Linked DNA regions of Homo sapiens: region 2 is linked to region 1. The links are contacts of gene promoters, found by promoter capture Hi-C in blood cells and fetal thymus (Javierre and others, 2016). All regions are on one chromosome and are shown on one strand. The core of a region is centred on a gene start or on the middle of the fragment in contact, and the rest is flanking DNA. Distances in the headings are between cores, read along the strand shown. Region 1 holds the start of THOC7-AS1 (THOC7 antisense RNA 1). Region 2 overlaps ATXN7 (ataxin 7).

Evidence for each region. Contacts are between HindIII fragments. The CHiCAGO score rates a contact against its expected background, and 5 or more counts as called.
Region 2: a contact is called between a fragment that was not itself captured here and the fragment with the promoter of THOC7-AS1 in region 1, in 7 of 17 cell types (total B cells, neutrophils, activated CD4 T cells and 4 more). The highest score is 10.6, in total B cells.

Annotation. Positions count from the first base shown.
Region 1 is chr3:63,856,921-63,861,918 of GRCh38, reverse strand. THOC7-AS1 (THOC7 antisense RNA 1) reads right to left here and starts at 1,274. Exons shown (of 2, transcript NR_104326.1): 1 at 923-1,274; 2 at 100-420. All of the region lies in intron 1 of THOC7 (THO complex subunit 7), which reads left to right. The HindIII fragment of the contact is 14,056 bases long and covers 1-3,428 here.
Region 2 is chr3:63,968,658-63,973,509 of GRCh38, reverse strand. The region is part of intron 5 of ATXN7 (ataxin 7); the gene reads right to left. Among named protein-coding and RNA genes, the nearest start is that of PSMD6-AS2, 33 kb to the left of the region's middle. RefSeq lists enhancers at 1-400, 2,382-3,033, 4,388-4,447, 4,458-4,537. The HindIII fragment of the contact is 7,761 bases long and covers 1-4,852 here.

The sequences.
Region 1 (4,998 bases), core at 25-2,524:
TGGGAGTCTGAGGAGAAAGGATCACTTGAGCCTGGGAGGTTGAGGCTGCAGTGAGCCAAGATCGCGCCAGTGCACTCCAGTCTGGGTGACAGAGTGAGACCGTGTCTCATTAAAAAAAAAAAAAACACACACACACATACACACTGTCTCTGTTATGTGCAGAATGATTAGAGGAAGAGAAAATGAGGAGCTAAGTTTCCTCGCCACTTACTAACGTTTACGTAGTGCTGTTAGGTATTATTCTAATTGTTATCCCCATTTTACAGATGAAACAGACACAGGTTAGCTTGCCTAAGGTCGCACAGATAGTAGTTATAGAGGGTCAAAGGCAGGGAGACCACCTGCCGAGTTCCTGCTCTTCACTATTATGCGTCCTGTGTCTGCTACTTCTGCAGTGGCCCTGGTGAGAGACAATGAGGACTGTGACCAAGAGGGAATGCAAAGAGGACAGGTGGGAGGGAAATAGGGAAATTTGTGAGGTAGAATGTCAGGACTTCAGGTATTGAATGGATGGTGGGAGAAGGGATTTAGGATGATCCCAGGTTTTTGACTTCACTGTGTGCCTGTTAGTGCTACTTTTCTATTTATTGAGATTGAGATGTCCAAAGGAGCAACAGGCTTTGTCAGATGGGAGATAGGGACAGAAGATGAGTTCTAAAGTAATGACTGCAGTCAAGTGCCCCCCCACATCCTTAAAAGCCACAGGAATCTCTACCCTGCCACTTACAGACTGTCTCAGCTTCAGTCTCTGAACGGAGATAATAATAAAATCCACATCAGCGGATTGTTTTGAGGATTAAACACAAAAAGTTGTAAAGGGCTTTGCATTGAGTCCAACACATAATAATTAATATTCAGTAAATATTAATGTCAGAGTTGTTTTACTAATCTGTCTTCCACTTTCCTTTGATGTGGACTTTGCCTTCTCTCTTAATCTGCACAGGTTGCCTTTTCCTGCCTTTTCTATCAGGTGACACTCCACTTATTCCTCAAGACCCACCTCAAAAATCCCCTCTTTTCTTTCCTAGAAGTAGTTGACCTTCTGCCTACTAGCCATATTATTTTATGCATATTGCTGCTGTCACCCTTAATACGTTATTTATATGCCTTATGCTAGAAAACATTTAAGGCAGTTCACTGTAATGAGAAAATATAAAAATTAAACGGATTAGAAAACAAGACAAAAAGAACATTGAGATTAGGAAAAATAAAGGGAAGTCAGAAGTGGGGTGATCCTCAAAATGCAGGAGGATAAAGTCTAGTACATTAATTAACCAAGCTGTAAGTGACCTGTTTCTCCAGTAGGCCATTCTGAGAGGCAGGACCTCGTCTGCTCTGTGATCTAGTGTTCATGAGAGAAGGCAATCTTAGATGCCCAGGAAAAGCACTTTTTTTTTCTGATTTGAACTAGAGGAAAAGTTTATCATTGAGGTCTTTATAAATGAAAGCCAGTGTCATATCCTTAACCTCTTTTCAGCACTGAAGATCATAGAGCTGTTTTGTAGCACATCCCTTGCTAGGTAAAAGAAGGCTAAATCACAATTTAGAAAGACATTCTAAAGCCAGTAGAGGCTGGGTGTGGTAGCTCACACCTGTAATCAATCTTAGCACTTTGGGATGCTAAGGCAGGAGGATCACGTGAGCCCAGGAGTTTGCGACCATCCTAAGCAACACAGCAAGACATGATCTATACTACAGAATTTTTCAAATTAGCCAGGCGTGTGTGGTGGTGTGCACCTGTAGTCTCAGCTACTCATCTCTACTAAAAATTTTCTTAAATTAGCCAGGTGGAGTGGAACACACCTGTAGGTAGTCCCAGCTACTCAGGAGGCTGAGGCAGGAGGATCACTTGAGCCCAGGAGTTTGAGGTTGCAACGAGCCATGATTGCACCACTGCACTCCAGCCTGTCAACAGTGCTAGACCCTGTCTAAAAATAAATAAATAAAATCAATGGACAATGTGGTTTAGGTGGGTAGTGGGTAGCTCTGCTGATCTGGCTTGATTCAAATCAGGGTTTTTTGATTGAATATCTAGACCATAGAGGAAAGACAAACTACAACTTCTTCAGACAATCCTCTATAAACATGGTTTTTGTCAGCTGAGCTTTTGAAAAAATCAAGCTGAAATGAGTGGTATGTGTGATCCGTCAACAAGTATTTATTGCATACCTTCTAGGCACAATGCGAGGTCCTGGCTACTTTGCAGTGAACTAGACAGAGGAGGGCCCTGGCCCCTGCTTTGGGGAAAGAAGCCATAGTGTGCAATCAAATAAGTAAATAAGATAATTTCTGAAAAGGAATGTAATTAAGTTCTGAGAATGAACTTGATGGAATGAGGACAGAGAGTAATGGGGGAGGGCAGTGATACCTGACAGGTTCAACCACATGAAGAGCCCAGGAAAGTATTCCAGATAGAGACAACAACTAGTGCAAAGGCCCGAGGTGAAAACAAGCTCTGCACCCTTTAGAGGAAATAAGGAAAGCCACTGGGCTGGATCTAGGGACAGGACTGCATCCAGGTGGGCCAAGAGGAGTACGATGCAAAAGGAGGTAAAAGGGAGCTCAGGAGGAGCCTTGCAGGCTTTGGAAAGGAGACTGAATTGTCCTTTGTGGGCATTTAGAAATGATAGGAGGATTGTAAGCAGGAGAGTTAGTGATCCAATTCATCTTTTAGATCATTCTGAGTTGCATAAAAAATGGATTCTAGGAAGGCAAGAATGGAAACAGGGAGTCCAATGCAAAATATTCCAGATGAGAGAAATGTGGGCTTGGATTAGAGCGATGTTAGTGTGGAAGATAGAAGTGGATGCTCTTGATATCTCATTCATCCTCCTGGAAAGCTCTTGGAGGAGTACCAGTACCTGTCCATGGAGCTTACATAAGAGCCAATGTCTTTTACAAATTTGATGTGCCTGTATCACTGTCCCTTCATGTAATCCATTCCTCTGGGTCTGCGTATCCAGTTGGACTGGGAGCTCTTGAAGAAGCAGCCCTTTATTTCCTGCACTCAGTTTGAGGAACTGCCCTGCTTTAGAGTAGCTATAGCTACTAGACTGGATATTTTCACCACTACTGTCATGTTATAAGTGAAAAAGTAGAGGTCTTTGGAAGTTAGTGACTTGCAGTCACACAGGTAGTTTGTGACAAAGCCATTTTCTCTCCTTCCCTTGTTGCCAACTCTAGCAGTCTGGCTAGCTGAAAAACAGTGTGGATGTTGTCACTGTTAATTTAAACTATGTTAACTGTATTTTGTATGTGTTAATTTAAAGGATGCTAAATATTGTTAGTACCCTGATAGAAATCATTTCAGAAGCACTTTTTGCACTACAGAGAACATTAGGTGATATATTGATATGCCAGAGCAACAGATGAGAGATGGAGAAAGGGGTTGGGGTGGAATGTGGCTCTACATTCTATTTAATAAAGCTTGCTGGTTTTGACGGTAGCTTTTTTTTTTAACTTAGAAAAATGTAATGCATGAATATGTACTTGTTGCAATGTGAAATAATGGTTTTTAATATGCCTACGAATAATATGACAGAATAATGGAGCTGCATTATGACTTTCTAATAATGTAATTGTATATATTTTTCTGTGAATGCAGAGGTGAGTAGTAACTCATCTGTGAAAGGAAGATAATAGTACACACTTTGTAGAGTTGTTTCAAGGATGAAACATGATAATATATGTAAAGCACTTTGAAGTTGAGTGACCATTTAATTTATTGTGTAAACCAGGACACTTTTCAGAGTGAAAAGAAACAAATGGGTTGTGTGGTCACCAACTAGGGTGGTATAAATGCTGTGCAAGTGTTTGCTGCTGCTGTTATTCCTATTTCAATTGCTGATCCAATGTTAATTAGACATTTGTGGGCACAGGGTTCTTTTGTTTTTGGGTTTTTTTTTCATTAGTGCCATTGCATTTGCCCACTTTCTTCCATCTTCTGTGGCCCCAACACAGGGATAACTGCTGCAGTTCAACTATGAAATGATGTTTCTTTAGCCAAGATAATTGGTTTTTCAAAGCAAGATGGACATTTCACCTTGACTTTATTAGCACTATACTACTCTAAACATTTAAATAGAGAGAAAAGACAAAGGACCTCAACATGATGTTTTGCATTTATTTTCCTTTTAAAATTTTAAATTTAATTTTGGTGCACGTAATTTACCTTGGCATCAGCAATTTATGTAGACCAGTCAGAAGTATCTTAGGAGAGGTTAATATCTACATGGAGGAATCAAACCATCTTATTGTTCCTTCCACCCACCTTTTATGTGTCTCCTTAATATTGTTGACCTTAAAAATTGTTTTAATGGCTTTGAGCTTTTTGAAAGGAGGGACCAGGTGTTATTTTACCATAAGGAATGTAACACAATGGGCTAATATGTGTGATTCATCTTAATAACATGAGCTGTGGTGGTCTAACGATAAATCTTACAGGAATCTGCATGAACATTTTTTTTACATGGCCTTAGTCTCTCTTCTTGTTCATTTAAAGTAGGTCAAATCAAGCCAGTTTTCTTTGTTGTTGTTAACATATCATAGCTTTATTCAGTAACGGAGTAGAATTTTTAATACAGAGAAAATGAAGTACCTGAGAATGATAAATAAGTTTACCACCCAGTTAACCACTGTTACTACTTCATAAAAAAAGTACTACATGTCAGTAAATTCAAGAAGAAATGCACAATATGAAAAATGAAAACCTTCCCCTCTTTACCTTCCGTAATAATTCCTCTCCCAGAATGATTTTTAATGCCTCTAAAAGGTAAAAGTATCTTCTCTGGAGCCTGACTCCTGAGTTTGAGTTCCATTTCTATTCCTTACTTCCTGTGACATTTAATTTTTGGCAAGATGCTTTTTCATTGGTAAAATAGGGATAAGAATATCTATAATGAGGCCGGGCAAGGTGGCTCACGCCTGTAATCCCAGCACTTGGGGAGGCCGAGGCGGGTAGGTCACGAGGTCAGGCGTTCAAGACCATCCTGGCTAACA
Region 2 (4,852 bases), core at 982-3,481, 110 kb before region 1:
GAAGAGTGAACTGTGACAGAATGTGCCAATTGGGGCTGTCTTTATAGCTTGGCTAAAAAGAATCAACTTACACAGTTTCCAGGTGAGGATGCTCTACAAAAGACCATCAGCAAACACCTGCTCAATAGGGTAAGGCTGGACCCACCAACCAATACACAACACAATATGCATGCTTCGAGTCACTCTCAGGTTGTTTATGGTCACCTTCCCAGCAGAGGCTCAGGACTGCTGGGCACAGTCTTGATATGTATGGGTTGAGTAATCAGCCTGAATAGAATCCAAATCAAATAAAAACACTTTTTAAAAGATTACCTGAAAAGGGCAAGAACTTTAGAGTCAGGGATATGTGGGTTCATATCCTTGCTCTGCCAGTTACTAATTGGGTGACCCTGGGCAACCAGCTCACTCCATCCTCGTTGGCAGCGTCTTCAGTTGCCAAGCCTACTTTGCAGGGCTGCTGTGGATTAAACGATCAAGAGTTGCAAAGCCTGCAGCACAGAGCCTACTGTGGACCAAGTACTGGGAACACATCAGCACATAAGACAGAGGCCCCCTGTTAGCTTGGCTGATACCAGCTACAGGCTTGTTTATTTAGACAGAAAAGTACTCACAAATAACACCTCCTGACTTCTAAAGGAGGTAGAAATCACTTAAGAACAAATCAAACCCTCTTTACTGTAAGTTATCTTCTCCAGTGTGATAAGGATTTAGTATACATATTTTTACGTGCCATTTCAGGAAGATATCAACCTCTTCTAAGATAGGAGCTCAGGGGAGCAACTTTAAGAATTCATTTAAAAATCAGCAAATTCACACCAAACAAAAAGAACATTCATTCAAGCTAAAGTTATTTTACAAATAAAAGGCTGGCTCATTTTCCTCACAGAACTCAGAAGACACTCAGGAAGAACTGCAAGTAGAATAAAATGAAGATCAAGTCTCAAATTCAGTTTACAGATCCAAAGGTGGAAATTTTGGGCAGATTTTCTAAGTAAAACCCACATATTTTTCTTTAAATGAAACTCACTCACACTTTCAGATAGACTCAGTTAAGGTTAAACAGAGTGTGCACTCTGCATGGATGGGCCTTATGAGAAATACCAATGCATGCTTCAAGGAATGCATGACTTCATGCCTTCTGACAGCTCCATTCCACAAACATCCCATAATGACGCCCATTTAAAGCAAGGACTTTCAATAATGAAGGTTATACATGGCTATAAAATGTAAAACATAGGTAAACATGCACACAGTCTTTGGCCAGTCACAGTAAGTAACAACGCATGTATCAAAAGCTCAGTTTAAAAACTTCAGGTCATTCATTAAGCTGTCCCTTCACAAAATTATTTATTGTTTATTTTTATGTCCAGGTTGAAAAATAACTGCAGCTTGCTATTATACAGCTCCCAATTAATCCAAACTGTCATAATCCATTTCCAGGCCACCAAACACAACTCGTGAGGTGTCAATTGGCATCATGTGTCTTTCACAAGGATTATAACTCCTTAAGAAAACATCCAAGAGCAGGACCTGAGGCAAACTAGAAATAAAGACTGCATAAAACAAAAACAAAAACAAAAACAAAAAAAACTCAGCACTTTTTTCTTACACATCTACTTTGCTCCAGACTAGTGTTTTCCCTAAACTTTTGTTATTCACAACTAAACCATATTTTGGATCCTTTTCCAAATCTGCACAATATCTAGACCATTATTTACTTAATATATTTTTTAAAATTCAGTGGCTGACTAGGGACTAATTTAGCATTATCCTAAGCAATAATATCTCTGAAAGAATGACTTTGTATTTGATGTAGGAGTTTTTTATATATATATGTATATATTTTTTCTCACGAATATTAAAAAATATTTGGCATACCATTGAAAATCACACCATGGACTACACATGAACATCGAGCATTTAATATTTCCTCACTACTTTCATTGTTGTCAACTTTTCCCTCTAAATTTTCTTATTCTTCTTAAAAGCACTCACATATGGCCTGACAAGCAAACATGGTCCTACTCCATCCACTCTTTGTAGTCCCAGGTCCTTTTTATTCCTAAATCTGCTTTATCTTTGATCCAATTTCTTTATGTTCCCCAGGCACTTGATGAAACTATTCCAGAGAGAGCTGAGTGTAGTCTAATTGCTTAAAAGGAAGCAAGTCGGTGGGACTGTCCCTGGAACATTCAAATCTCAAGTTGGGGAATTCAGAACTGACCTCTGACATGCAGTGCCTCAAAGGACAATTAGCCAAAATTGGGGCTGGGAGGCAACTCCAGAGCATGCTTAGGTGGGTTACAAATGGCACTGGAAAACACTGAGAAAGAAAAAGTCCTTGCCACAAAGCACTCGGCATCATTTCCACTAGAGAGATTTAACTGAAAAGGATGATTTCAACACTGGCTGCCCTAACAAATTAGTCTCCAACTGCTACCTCTGCCAAAGGCATCTCTCCTCCCCCTAATGCGGAGGTGCTTTTAAATTAAAACCTAACGGGAAAGTGCAGAAAAGAGAGTCATTTATAGCACTTGGGCCACTTGAAACAACTTTTCACCAAAGGTCCTAATCAAATTATCAAGCTCTTGAAGTCAGCGCTTTATGACATAAATAAAGGCCCCACTAAAGTATTCGGGTCTCCTGGCATTTCCACGTCTCTGGGCAGAGCGCGCACTGCAGCATACCCATTCACACTGGCTGCATGAAAGAGAACAGATCACAAAGGGCAGATTACAAGGGAGAACGACTCCACTCCAGTGGGGGAAGGGACAGGCGTGAATGGATTGTAAATAATGTTGCTAAGAAAGGAGCAGAAATATGGCAACCTCAAATAATCCTCTTGCCAGGAATTCTTCCCAAAAGGACTGTTCTTTCTAAACTCTGCTTTCAAGTATGTGAGAAATATGAAAAAGTTATTGAATATCTGGGGGATACTCCTTCCCTGCCTAACTTGTTGCTTTTTGCAAACATTTGTAAAAGGGCTTTAAAAAAAATCCAAATATTTTATTGAAAAATACGGAATGATAGGGAAAAAGAGGAGGTACAGAATGTCACAACAGTTGATCACCTCAGCTATGAGTATAACACCCTTTTTTTTTGTCTTTCAAAAAACAGCTTGTCTTACATAAAACTGAGTGGTCTGAGTGATCAGTTCAGTTCCTGAAGGACGCCCTTTTTATGCTCCTGCAACCCTGTTCAAGGTGCAGACTTTTGACCAGAGGATTATCATCCTCTCTAACACATGCATACACACAACACTTAGGGAAAGTACATTTTGGGAAAAGGATGCTGTTGCTTTTGAGTGTTAACACAACCATCCAACTGTTTATGCCACCTCTGTGATCTTTATGTCACTGTTTCTGACTACAGATACCACACAATGAATGACATGCTGGCTGACACTTCTACTTTGCTAACAGCCATAAGGACTTCTCTCTGCTATCCTCAGAGAGCACGGTGTTACCCAAATGATGCTGACAGAGTACAGCAATAAATCACCCTGGCCGATTTATTTGACCTCACTATCTGAGTGATGCACATCATTTTGTAAAATTTCACTCCCCTTTCTCCCTCTTACACCATCATTCACTTGAACTGTTTCTATACCTCAGGTATACAGGTGAGAAGAAAAGAGAGAGCCAAAACGAAAATCCACCAGTCTCTAGCTACTTTTGATTCAATCCTCTATGTGTTAGGGAAAAGAACACTTTAGAATTTTAGCAATTTACCTTTATAAGGATAGCCTTCCAATTTGTTATACTATCTGTAGTTCAAGCATCAAACATACTCAGTCTTTACACAAGTATCTCTATAGTCTCAATTTGGTCTAGGTCACTGTTTTCCCAAATGAAACATATGGGCTATTACCAAAATGCTAAAAGACAATTAAAAAAACAAAACAAAACTATGCCGTTAACCACTCCAATCCAATTTTTACAAAAACATAAAAAGAGAGAGAATAAAAGGAACCTGGTAAAACTCAATTTAGAGGAGCTGCCTTGTTTTTGTTTGGTTGTTTCTGTTTTGTCTTTTAAAATAGAAATTTCTGTGTAGGAATCCCAACAGGGAGCATCATCTTCCCACAGTCCAACAAACAAGAGCAACTCTGCAAGGTACAACGAAATGACAAAACTATCTGCTGAAAAGTGCTACACTGAGCCAGTCACAATCCTTATTGCCATTTTCCACTGGTTTTATATCCTTTTTATATCACCTTATTCTGGGTGGGGGAGGGCAGAATACCTGAAGACCAGAACATGGAAATAAGAAAAACCTCACATTTTGAACACAGCCTTACAGATTCCTTCATTATACATTCTTTTAATAAGGAATGAGTGATTAATTACCCAGGAATGCCAATGTTTTCAATGAGTCTGCAACACACATTTATTTTTTCTGAAGAGAGAAACAGTATCTGCTCCACCTGCATGCCAGGGCTGTCAACTAATAAAACATCAGAAGTGACATGCAAAAACGAAAGCAGAAACAGTGAACCTAAAACTGTCTGACAAGAGTTTTCAGAAAAATCAATTATAGAGAATCAACAGCAATTTGATTAAAGGTTTAAGATCTTTTCATATTTAAAGTCCTACAACTGGGGAGCTCAATTTCAACCTCAATTAAAACCTTCCGGTCAAGCTCATTATTACACAAGGCATGAAATCTGAATCCCCTGAAAACTGAAGAACTCAATTGACACCTCACTTCCCGCATGAAGACAGAAGGTCTGAGACAGGTAAGGTAATATTGAGACCAGCCTCCACACATCCACCCAAGAATCAGCTTAGCTCTGCTGGCTACCTTAATAACACAACTAAAAAAAATCATCTTTTCTGGCAGTCAGTCCATA